Linked DNA regions of Homo sapiens: region 1 is linked to region 2. The links are contacts of gene promoters, found by promoter capture Hi-C in blood cells and fetal thymus (Javierre and others, 2016). All regions are on one chromosome and are shown on one strand. Each heading gives the region's core, a stretch centred on a gene start or on the middle of the fragment in contact. The rest is flanking DNA. Distances are from core to core; before and after follow the strand shown.

What was found. The method cuts DNA at HindIII sites, captures the fragments that hold promoters and counts their contacts. A CHiCAGO score of 5 or more calls a contact.
Region 1: a contact is called between a fragment that was not itself captured here and the fragment with the promoter of H3-4 in region 2, in 2 of 17 cell types (endothelial precursors and erythroblasts). The highest score is 6.3, in endothelial precursors.

The regions. Positions count from the first base shown.
Region 1 is chr1:228,250,453-228,257,049 of GRCh38, forward strand. It overlaps OBSCN (obscurin, cytoskeletal calmodulin and titin-interacting RhoGEF), which reads left to right. Exons shown (of 116, transcript NM_001386125.1): 16 at 6,199-6,474. Among named protein-coding and RNA genes, the nearest start is that of OBSCN-AS1, 40 kb to the left of the region's middle. The HindIII fragment of the contact is 3,253 bases long and covers 3,722-6,597 here.
Region 2 is chr1:228,423,930-228,429,707 of GRCh38, forward strand. H3-4 (H3.4 histone, cluster member) reads right to left here and starts at 1,431. Exons shown (of 1, transcript NM_003493.3): 1 at 916-1,431. The coding sequence starts at 1,396. The coding sequence ends at 986. The HindIII fragment of the contact is 2,523 bases long and covers 1-1,659 here.

The DNA.
Region 1 (6,597 bases), core at 4,098-6,597, 170 kb before region 2:
TTTGTAATGCTCAGTCACTCATTCCTAGCACCTGCCCAGAGCCTTCCTGGTGCTCCTTGGCTTCTGGGACTCTGGATCTCCCTTGTCTTGGGTTCTGAGGTTGACCAGGCATCTCTTTCCTGGGGCTCTGTGAATATCCTGTCAGTATATGTTCTGGAAGCTACCATATGCCCTCACCCAGCAGCACATGCTAGTTCTGGTCAGCGAGAGATATTTTGATTTTTTTCCTGGTGGAGTGACCCAAACCTTCATTCCTGAAGGGTCTAGGTCATTTGTAGTCCTGCCTGGATTGGGTTGTCGTAGTTTCCCATTGACCTTAATCGCAGGGCATGATAATACTGAGAGATGTCCTAAGAGATTGCCTGTATTCCACGCATATGCCTCCTTACCTCCATTGTGAAGTAGTAGACTGATTTCATCTTGATAGTTCGGGTCAGTCACCCCAACCAACAATGTAACTCCCTTAGCCTGTTGACTTAAAGGTAGGAGGAGCCCAAAGTGGCCAGGTGGCAATCTTAACTTCCAGTTTAATGGGATCGTTGTTGTGTCTCCTGGTGGCAGCATTCCTCCTTCAGGAACTAAGACCTCTAAGCCGGCAGAACGTAATGTCATGGGAACAGGAAGCAAAAATTTTGCTAGTGGGTCACTAGGGGTGATGGTGAGTGGTGCCACTTCCACTTCCATCCCTTGATTCCTGGATTCGTGAATCCTGGCTATGGGAAAAACAGTGCCATATATTGGACACCGATTCAGAGCACAGACAGCCTCTGGAGAACTTTGCCCCAGCCCTGCAAAGTATTGACACCTAGTTGGCATTGGAATTGTGACTTCAAAAAGCTATTGCACTGTTCTATCAATCCACTTGCTTCAGGATGATGGGGAACATGGTAAGACCAGTGAATTCCATGAGCATAAGCCCACTGCCACACTTTTTTAACCATAGAGTGCTTTGGTCAGAGGCAGTGCTGTGTGAAATACCATGACGGTGGATAAGACATTCTGTGAATCCATGGATGGTAGTCTTGGTCAAAGTGTTGTGTGCAGGATAGACAAACCCATATCTGGATAAGTGTCTATTCTGGTGAGGACAAACCATTGCCCTTTCTATGATGGAAGAGGTCCAATATAATCAACCTGCCATCAAGTAGATGTCTGATCACCCTGAGAAATGGTGCCATATCGAGGGCTCATTGTTGGTCTCTGCTGCTGGCAAATTGGGCACTCAGCAGTGGCCTTAGTCAGGACTGCCTTGGTGAGTGGAAGTCCATGCTGCTGAGCACATGTGTAACCTCCATCCCTGCCACCATGGCTGCTTTGTTCATGGACCCATTGGGTGATGACAGGGGTGGCTGGGGAAGGAGGCTGAGTGGTGTCCACAGTCATCCTATTCACTTGATTATTAAAATCCTCCTCTGCTGAGGTCACCCTTTGGTGAGCACTCGCATGAGATACAAATATCTTCACAATTTTTGACCACTCAGAGAGGTCCATCCACACACCTCTTCCTCAATTTTCCAATCATGCTTCTTCCAAGTCCCTGACCATCCAGCCAAACCATTGTCTACAGCCCATGAATCAGTGTATAATCGCTCATCTGGCCATTTCTCCTTCAAGCAAAGTGCACAACGAGGTGCACTGCTTGAAGTTCTGCCCACTGGGAAGATTTCCATTTGCCCCTGTTCTTCAGGGATGTCCTAGAAAGGGGCTGTAGTGCTGCAGCTCTCCGCTTTTGGGTAGTGCCCGCATATCGTACAGAACCGTCTGTGAACCAGGCCCTAGTCTTCTCTTCCTCTGTCAGTTGATCATAGGGAACTCTCCATGAGGCCATTGGTGCAGGCTGGAGGAGAGAAGGCAGGGTGGCAGGAGTGGGGACCATGGGCATTTGAGCCACTTCCTCATGTAACTTACTTGGGCCTTCAGGACCTACTTGAGCCCGATCATGTATATACCACTTCCATTTGATGATAGAATGCTGTTGTGCATGCCCAACTTTATGGCTAGGTGGGTCAGAAAGCACCCAGGTTATGACAAGCAGTTCAAGTCACATGGTGACTTGATGATCCATAGTCAATTGTTCAGTTTCCACCAAAGCTCAGTAACAGGCCAAGAGCTGTCTCTCAAAATGAGAGTAGTTATCTGCAGAAGATGACAGGGTGTTGTTCCAAAATCCTAAAGGCCTCCACTCTGATTCACCCGTGGGGGCTGCCAAAGGCTCCAGACAGCATCCCTATCTGCCACTGGCACCTTAAGCACCACTGGATCTGCTGAGTCATATGGCCCAAGTGGCAGAGCAGCTTGCACAGCAGCCTGGACCTGTTGCAGACCCTTCTCCTGTTCTGGACCCCACTCAAAACTGGCAGCCTTTTGGGTCACTTGATAAATGATCCAGAGTAACACACCCACATGAGGAATGTGTTGCCTCCAAAATCCAAATAGACATTGTGCCTCTTTCTTGGTTGTAGGAGGGGCCAAATGCAGCAACTTATCCTTCACCTTAGAAGGAATATCTTGACAGGCCCCACACCACTCGACCCCTAGACATTTTACTGAGGTGGGAGGTCCCTGAATTTTAGTCAGATTTATTTCCCATCCTCTGGAATGCAAATGTCTCACCAGCAAGTCCAGTGTGTTTGCTGCTGTGTATATCTGTGTTCCCTTGGCTGATACATAGGGAAGCCTGAGAAATACAATTAATTTCCTTTTTTTTTTTTTTTTTAAAATAAAGAGAGTGTTGATGCCAAATAGGGGTGGGCTGAAGTCCCATGGTGACCTCTGGGTGCTAACACATAAGTTTGGTATTACATCAGCATCAGTGTTATGTGGATGTGTATAGATAACAGAAATCCCACTGTATATTTCTGTGAAGTTATTTTCAGAGAATATGACAAAATGTTTTATGTAATAAATTTGAAAAGTTGTGACAATTTGGCTAATTCCTAGTAAATTACATGAAAACTCACATAAAAGGTTACAGAAAACTTAGTCCTATAAGTTTTAAATAGATGGAGGCAGTAGTAAAAAAATCTTTTAAACCCAATAATTTTCTAGTAAACTGTTTCAAATATTCTGGAAAGCAGTTACTCCATATTCATGAATATTGTTCTGGAGAATAGAAAAAGGAGATTGACTCCATATGCCATTTTATGGTTTTTTTTTTTTGTTTGTTTGTTTGTTTGAGACAGGGCCTCACTCTATTGTCCAGGCTGGAGTACAGTGGCATGATCTTGGCTCACTGCACCCTCTGCCTCCCAGGTTCAAGTGATTTTCCTACCTCAGCCCCCCAAGTAGCTGGGATTACAGGGATGCACCACCACCACAAAAATAGCATGTGTGCCAGCTATTTTTTTGTATTTTTTTTTTTCAGTAGAGACGGGGTTTTGCCATGTTGCCCAGGCTAGTCTCAAACTTCTGGGCTCAAGCTATCCACCCGCCTTGGCCTCCCACAGTGCTGGTATTACAGGCATGAGCCACCATGCCCAGGCCATCATTTTATGTAGATAGCGTAACATTAATACCAAAATCTGACAAAGGAAGTAGGAAGAATTAAATTGTCGACCAATCTATATGGATTTGTCATTATGGATATCAAGAACACAATCATAAACAAAGTATTAGCAAATGGAATTCAGCAATGTATCAAGAAGACAGTGCACTCTGTTGAAGATCCTGGTCCCAGAATGCAAGGCTGGTTTGGCTTTAGAAGCATTAGATCAGTATAATAAGCTTGACCTTAACAGATTGAATGAAAAATGATGTAATTATCTCAATAAATGCAGATTAAAAGTATTTGATAAAATCTAGAAGATATATTTGAGAAAATTTAGCATCAACTCATTTCATAGGATTCTTAACAAACTTTATAGAAGTGTTCTTCCTTAATTTGATAAATGGTACTAGAGAAGCACCACTAGGATCCCACTCAGAGCAAACCTTGAAAGGTTTGGTTCAGAGAAGGAGACAGGGCAGTGTCACCACTTGTATCCAACATTGTACATAAGGGTAAGGAGGAAAATAACGCAAAAGGCATGGCACTTGGAAAAAGTAAAAGTGAAATTTACTGATGATATGGCCATCCACTTGGAAAATCCAATAGAGAACTTAGTAGACTAAGTAACATTGAGAATGATTATTCTGTTAAAAAAAAAAATCAACACACAGACAATACTTCTGTATCTATATACAGCAGTAAACAGTTGCAAAATGAAATTTGAAAAGACTTACAGTAGCATCAAAATTACAGTGTTTCTAATTCAAAGTCTAATAAAGATGTTTAAAGCCTGGGGAGGGGCTAGGAAATTGTTGTATATTTTGCAAGACAATTAAGAGATCTAATTAAATGGATAGAAATTCATGAAACATTAAAATATATTCATTAACAATCAGGATCCAAACAATTTTTTTTTGTGGGGGAATGAAAAGAAAATCAAAGTATGAACATTACTCTACCAGATGTCAAAAATTATCATAAAGTTACAGTAATTAAGACAATGGATTTCAATGAATGGTTAGATATCAGAACAAAGAAATGGAATAGTGAGCTCAGGAACAGTTCTATGCATCAGTGATCTCTGGATGTCCCCCTTCCTTTTTTTTTTTTTTTTTTTTTTTTAACCATGGCATCTGTGCAAGAAGTAGAGAAAGGATAGTGTTTTCTTTTTTTTTTGTTTTGAGATGGAGTCTAGCTCTGTTGTCCAGGCTGGAGTGCAGTGGCGCCATCTTGGCTCACTGCAAGCTCTGCCTCCCGGGTTCATGCCATTCTCCTGCCTCAGCCTCCCGAGTAGCTGGGACTTCAGGTGCCCGCCACCACACCCGGCTAATTTTTTTGTATTTTTAGTAGAGACGGGGTTTCACTGTGTTAGCCAGGATGGTCTTGATCTCTTGATCTCCTGACCTCGTGATCCGCCCGCCTCAGCCTCCCAAAGTGCTGGGATTACAGGCATGAGCCACTGTGCCCAGCCAAGGATAGTGTTTTCATAACTAGTGTGTGGACCATTTTAAACATATGGGAAGAATTAAAGCATATTGGTAATTCATAGCATGCGCGAGAGTCAGCTCCTGGTGGGTTAGAGACCTCAGGGTAAAAGGTAAAACAATAAACCCCAAGATGGTAAGCATAGGCTATCTACAGAATTTAGGGTAAGGAAGTGTTTAAATAGAACACAAATGCCCTAACCACAATGGACAAGATTGATATATTTGAGTACATTAAAACTAAAAGGTCTGATTCATCAGAAGGTGCCATAAGAGATGAAAACCCAAGTCACACAGGTAGGGAAGATACAAAGTGCATAATTGTGACCTCTCTAACATTAAAATATATGAAGAAGACCTTAAAGCCAGGGTCCCCAACCCCCAGGCTGTGGACCAGTACTGTTCTGTGGCCTGTTAGGAACTGGGCCGCACAGCAGGAGGTGAGTGGCAGGTGAGCATTCCCGCCTGAGCTCTGCCTCCTGTCAGATCAGCAGCAGCATTAGATTCTCATAGGAGCATGAACCCTATTGTGAACTGTGCATTGGAGGAATCTAGGTTGTGCTCCTTATGAGAATCTAATGCCTGATGATCTGAGGTGGAACAGTTTCATCCTGAAACTATCCCACCAACCCCCATCTGTGGAAAAATTGCCTTCCATGAAGCTAGTCCCTGCTGCCAAAAATGTTGGGGACTGCCTTCTTAAACTGAATAAAGACAACAAGACAGTGCTATTGATAATGGGACGGAATTGAGTAGTGACACCACAGAGGAGCAAACAGGAATGGCCAATCCTCTAGAAAGATGCTCAGCCCTGTGAGCCATCAAACAATGAAGAAAGCCACAGCGACACACCCCGCTGAGGCCAAAGCTGACCGTCCTGACAGTGGCAGAAGCGGGAGCCTCAAGACTGGGGTTCTGTGGTGAGGATGCGTCTTGCACAGCCGCATTGGGAGACCCTTGCTCCATTCATGAGGGGAAGGGTGCAGGCGTCAGGACCCCAATCCCTGCCCCAGATGAGCTTGTGTGGGCAAGATCTGTCAGCCACCCCACCAAAGACAGCCTGTGGCACCATGCAGAATGGATGGAGAAACTTCCTTGTGCTGGGAGGTGGTGGTGCAGCCTGGAGAGCGTCTGTCCCTTGCGCCTCCCCTTCCAGGCCTTCTCTCCCCAGTTCTGCCTTCCTGACCTAGATGTTGGTGGTCACCGTGTGCATCTTGCCTTCCCCAGAGCCCAAGGTGGTGTTTGCCAAGGAGCAGCCAGTGCACAGGGAGGTGCAGGCCCAGGCGGGGGCCAGCACCACACTCAGCTGCGAGGTGGCTCAGGCCCAGACGGAGGTGATGTGGTACAAGGACGGGAAGAAGCTGAGCTTCAGCTCGAAAGTGCGCATGGAGGCTGTGGGCTGCACACGGAGGCTGGTGGTGCAGCAGGCGGGCCAGGCGGTCGCCGGGGAGTACAGCTGCGAGGCGGGGAGCCAGCGGCTCTCCTTCCACCTGCACGTGGCAGGTCAGTGCTTTGGGGGTTGGAGAGTGACTTTGTGTGGAGGTGATGATGAGACTGGCTGATGGACTCCACGGCCTCCAGTGCCCTTTCCATGAGACTCCACCTCTCCACTTCTCCATGCCCTCA
Region 2 (5,778 bases), core at 181-2,680:
AAAGATACACAACTAGCCAGCCTTCTAAATTAACAGGAGGTAGGCTGAGTTAAAACACACAAGTAGCTGGACTTTTTTTTGTTTTTTTTTTTGAGATTGAGTCTCGTTCTGTTGCCCACGCTGCAGTGCAGTGGCATGATCTTGGCTCACTGCAACCTCCGCCCCCTGGGTTCAAGCAGTTCTCCTGCCTCAGCCTCCCAAGTAGCTGGGATTACAGGTATGCGCCACCAAACCCGGCTAATTTTAGAGATGGGGTTTCACCATGTTGGCCAGGCTGGTCTGGAACTCCTGACCTCAGGTGATACACCCGCCTCGGCCTCCCAAAGTGCTGGGATTACAGGCGTAAGCTGCTATGCTGGTGAAGTAGCTGGACTTCTAACTTAAAATAGGCCAAGATAATACATACTACTTGCTGGCCTTAACAGGAGATGGGCTGTCAAGGCAGAAGACTAGCTGGACTGGTAACCTCACTGGAAACAAGCTGCGTGTACACACACACACACACACGCAGGACTTCTAACCTAATTTGAAAGAGGCTGAGCTGAGAACACACAAGACCAGCCAGCCTTCCAACCTAACTGTAGATAGGCTGAGTTGACACAACTAGCTGGGGTTGCTTACCTAACTGGAGATAGACCAATTAGGCTACCCTCAACACCCCGTCCCCAAAACAGACCAACCATGATTCTTATCTAAACGGATAGGCCAAGTTAGCCCCACACACTACTAGCTGGATTTGTGACTGGAGACAGGCTGAGAGGTAACGCGTGTGAGTAGCTGGCCTCCTAACTGGACAGGGTGAACACAGGATTCACCAGCCTCCCACCCTAATCAGAAGTAGGTAAGCCAGCACAGGCCAGCGGAAGGAACCCCCCGAAACCCAAGAGACTAGCTTGCTACAGCAACTCTTCGACCAGGTGGGTGGCTCTTAAAAGAGCCTTTGGGGTGAACGTTGCGCAACCTCTCAGGTGGCGAGATAGCCCTCCTAGGCCCGCTCCCCGCGGATACGGCGTGCCAGCTGGATGTCCTTAGGCATGATGGTGACCCGTTTGGCATGGATGACACACAGGTTGGTGTCCTCAAACAGCCCCACCAGGTAAGACTCGCACGCCTCCTGCAGCGCCATCACGGCCGAGCTCTGGAAGCGCAGGTCGGTCTTAAAGTCCTGAGCGATCTCGCGCATCAGCCGCTGGAAGGGCAACTTGCGGATTAGCAGCTCAGTGGACTTCTGGTAGCGGCGGATCTCGCGAAGCGCCACCGTGCCGGGCCGGTAGCGGTGCGGCTTCTTCACGCCGCCAGTGGCAGGTGCGCTCTTGCGAGCCACCTTGGTGGCCAGCTGCTTGCGCGGCGCCTTGCCACCCGTTGACTTGCGCGCAGTCTGCTTGGTTCGGGCCATGAATCCGAAACTGTTGGCCCCGCGGTGTCCTCTGCCCAGACCTCAGCGGATTGCTCGCTTTTATAGAGCTTGCCGCGTTCCCATTGGCTGGCCTCAGGTGGCGTGATGGCCCACTGCTCTCTGATTGGCCCACAGGGAACTCCACTCGGGCGCCTCTCCCTTATATTCATGCCTGTTGGTCGTGGCCACCAGAGCTGGCACCAGCATTGTGAAGGGTTGATGCGGGTAGGCCGCGGTGGTGGGGATCATCTCTCTCCAGCACAAGCTTCCTCATGTCTTCTCAGCGCTCCTCTTCTCCCTTCCCCATGACTTGGGTGGCAAGAGCCTTCCAGAAGCCAGCACATGGCATTCCACTTTTTTAAAAAATTAATTTATTTTTTTATTTTTTGAGATGGAGTTTCACTCTTGTTGCCCAGGCTGGAGTGCAATAGCGTGATCTCTGCTTACTGCAACCTCCACCTCCCAGGTTCAAGCGATTCTCCTGCCTCAGCCTCCCGAGTAACTGGAATTACAGGGATTACAGGTGTCCGCCACCATGCCTGGCTAATTTTTTGTGTTTTTAATAGAGATGGGGTTTCACCATATTGGCCAGGCTGGTCTCGAACTCCTGACCTCAGGTGATCCACCCGCCTCGGCCTCCCAAAGTGCTGGGATTACAGGCATGAGCCACCAGGCCCAGCTGGCATTTCACTTTTTTTTTTTTTTTTTTGAGACGGAGTCTCTCTCTGTCGCCCAGGCTGGAGTGCAGTGGCGCAATCCCAGCTCACTGCAAGCTCCGCCTCCCGGGTTCACGCCATTCTCCTGCCTCAGCCTACAGAGTAGCTGGGACTACAGGTGCCCGCCATCATGCCTGGCTAATTTTGTTTTGTATTTTTAGTAGAGACGGGGTTTCACCATGTTAGCCAGGATGGTCTCGATCTCCTGACCTCGTGATCCGCCCGCCTCGGCCTCCCAAAGTGTTGGGATTACAGGCGTGAGCCAGCGTGCCCGGCCGGCATTCCACTTTTACACAGTGACAAAGCTCTGGGATGCAGCCAGAGTTAAAGGAATCTCCCACTTTTTATGACCTGCAAAGAACTCCCTTACCTGTACGGCTTAGATGAGCCTTAGGATTCTGAAGAAGGTAAAGATGTGCCTTTCTGGCATATTGTCTATTTTGAGATAAAGGCACTTAAAAAAAAAAAAGAAGAAGCAGGTGTAGGAAGATCATTCTGAATTTCTTGTTGTTTCTTAAATACAAGAGATGAAATTCCCATATGAAAGATGTTCTCCTTATAGTAAAAGCAAGGGAACGTTCTTATCATCAAGGACGGGAGGTGGAAGCTTCCAAATCTCCTCCAACTCTCAAGTTGAAATTTGATCCCTAAAGTTGGAGCCCAGGGAGGGGGGGGCCAGTGGGAGGTGTGTGGGTCCTGGGGTGTCACCCTCTGAATAGAGTCCTGCCCTCCTTTAGGGTGAGTTTTCACTCTGTTGGTTCCCTGAAGAGCTGGTGTTGAAAAGAGCCTGGCACCCCTCTCCCCTCTCTCTCTGGCGTCCTCTCTCGCGGCAGCCCTGTGACCTCTGCACATACATGGGTTCCCCTTCACCTTCCACCATGAGCAGAAGCAGCCAGAGGCCCTCACCAGAAGCAGAGGTGGGCCCTATGCTTGCTTCCTTCCTTTCTCCCTCCCTCCCTTCCTTTCTCCTTCCCTCCCTTCCTCACTCCCTCCCTTCCTTTCTCCTTCCCTCCCTTCCTTTCTCCTTCCCTCCCTTCCTTTCTCCTTCCCTCCCTTCCTTTCTCCTTCCCTCCCTTCCTCACTCCCTCCCTCCCTTCCTTTTTTTCTTCTCCCTTCCCCTCCCCTCCTTTCCCTCCTTTTTTCATCTTGCTCTGTTGCCCAGGCCCCTCTTACCTCAGCCTCCCAAGTAGCTGGGACCACATCCAGCTAATTTTTAAATTTTTAATTTTTTTGTAGAGATGGGCTGTCATTATGTTGCCCAAGCTGGTCTTGAATTCCTGAGTTCAACTGATCCCCCGACCTTGGCCTCCCAAAGTGCTAGGATTACACCGTGCCCGGCCACTATGCTTTTTTTTTTTTAATTTTTTGACCTGAGTCTCACTCTGTTGCCCAGGCTGGAGTGCAGTGATGTGATCTCAGCCCACTGCAACATCCGCCTCCCGGGAAGTTCAAGCGACTCTCCTGCCTCAGCCTCCTGAGTAGCTGGGATTACAGGCGTGAGCCACTGCGCCCAGCCACTGTGCTTCTTGTACAGCCTGCGAAACCATAAGCCAAATAAACCTTTTTTTTTTTTAATAAATCATCCAGCCTCAGGTATTCCTTTAACAACATGAAACAGACCAAGATAGAAGCCAAGAGAAATCTATACAAACAAACTTTATTAAACTAACCCTTATCTTCCTAGTTGTTGCCACAGTTACTACTCTTTGTTCAACCTAGTGTGTAAGTATTTTGACTTAGTCATTTCTTCACCCCATTAACTATCCTCACTCAAGCCCCGTGGCCGTATCAAATCTCACAACTTAATAGTGTTTGTCCACCTCTGTATATAAGTGACTCTAACTGCCTCTTTGCATCTTCATTTCCTTATGAGGGCTCCTGTACCACATTAAATTTGTATTAAATAACTGTATGTTTTTCTCCTGCTCATCTCTCTAATGTCAGTCTAATTCTTGGGCCCACCCTGGACCCTAAGATAATGGAGGTAGAATTCTGCCTCCCCTACAGCGCCCCTTGTTGATGCATGACAGGCCCACTGTCTTTGTCTGTTTTGCGTTGCTGTAAAGGAATACTAGAAGCTGGGTAATTTATCAAAACTTTTTTTGGCTTATGGTTCTGCAGGCTGTATAAGAAGCAAGGCTTCAGCATCTGCTTCTGATGAGGACCTCAGGAAGCCTCCATTCATGGTGGAAGATGAAGGGGAGCCCCTGTGTGCAGAGGTCACAGGGAAAGAGAGAGGAGGAGGTGCCGGGCTGTTTTTAACAACCAGCTTTGGCAGGAACTAATAGAGCAAGAACTCCACTCCCTACAAGGGAGGGCAGGAGTCTATTCATGAAGGATCTGCCCCCAGGACCCAAGCACCTCCCACCAGGCTGCACCTCCAACACTGGAGATTAAATTTCAACATGAGAATTAATGAGACAAACACCTTATTCAAACTATAGCACCCACTACATTGCCATCTTTGCCTTATCAATGATTACCTGAACTCCTTGTCCCCATGCGTCAATCCACACAAGATGCTTGTTTGCCCAGCCTTGGTTCAGCTTCTCCCCTCCCCCAACGCCCTGATGTTTGGCCTCTCCTGGAGCAGGCCAGGCTCAGGGTAAAGTATCCTCAATCTCTTGTCCCCTCAGCCACCCTTCATCCCACTTCCCCAGACGTGGTTCTTTCCAGCCTCATTCATTCCTCCCTATATAAGAAAACTCCTTCTCTGCGTCACCTTTGGGAGCTTGCAGACATTAAGGTCAATGCTTTCTCCCTATTGCAGTATTCTGGTATCTCCTATTGCAATATCCTTTTGCATAAAGATATCTCCTTACTAAATCTGGATTGGTTTTTTTATTGGACAGTGGTTGTTACACAGAAGGCCTGCTGCCCTCTGCTCATCGGGTCTGGTTGGCTGGGCAGACAGATGGAAGGACCCTAGGACCATCCACCTGTGAAGTCCACCCAGGCTCGCCCCTGGTGTAAATGATGTGGGGTCTGACCTGGCCAGACCAGATGCTGCTCAACCCTTTAACTGCCTGGGAGGATTTGGACACGTTCCATCTTCCTGGAGCTGTCCCTCACTCGAGAGAGGCAGCCTTGGGACTCTCCAGGTGTCCTTAGGGCTAACGGGGCTGATGATGGGCGGATGATGGATTCCAGGCACCTGCTGCGACCTCCCCAGGAGCACCTGCAAAGCAGCCCTTTCTGCCTCGTGACTCTACCCAGGCCTCCCTGTGGAGTGTGGCACAGGCTTGGCCAGTTCTCCGAGTGCAGCCAAGAGGCTCATAGGTTTTGGGCACATGTCTGCGACCTCACTTTTCCAGTCATAAGGGCTTTTGCTTTTAGATTCTCAGGGGCTTTGAGCTCCCAAACCACCCAGACATAGCACAGGATGCCACCTGGTTCTATGTGTCTGAGCAAACAAATGCACTCACATGAAGCACAGAATAAAGGGCTGCCTAAATGCGGACCCACCCACCCCTGGCAAGGCTTGAAAATAGCCTCTATATTACATGTAAAAGCGCTTTTTAGATGATTAGCTGAACAGTTCATTTTCTTGATCTCCAATCATTGAGTTCTATGTCGTTAAAACCCCTAGAAGGACCAAGACGTAGAGAAAAATGTCCCCTGAAAACTTCCCAAGAGAGATTTCCTCTGCAAACTGAAGAGAATGTG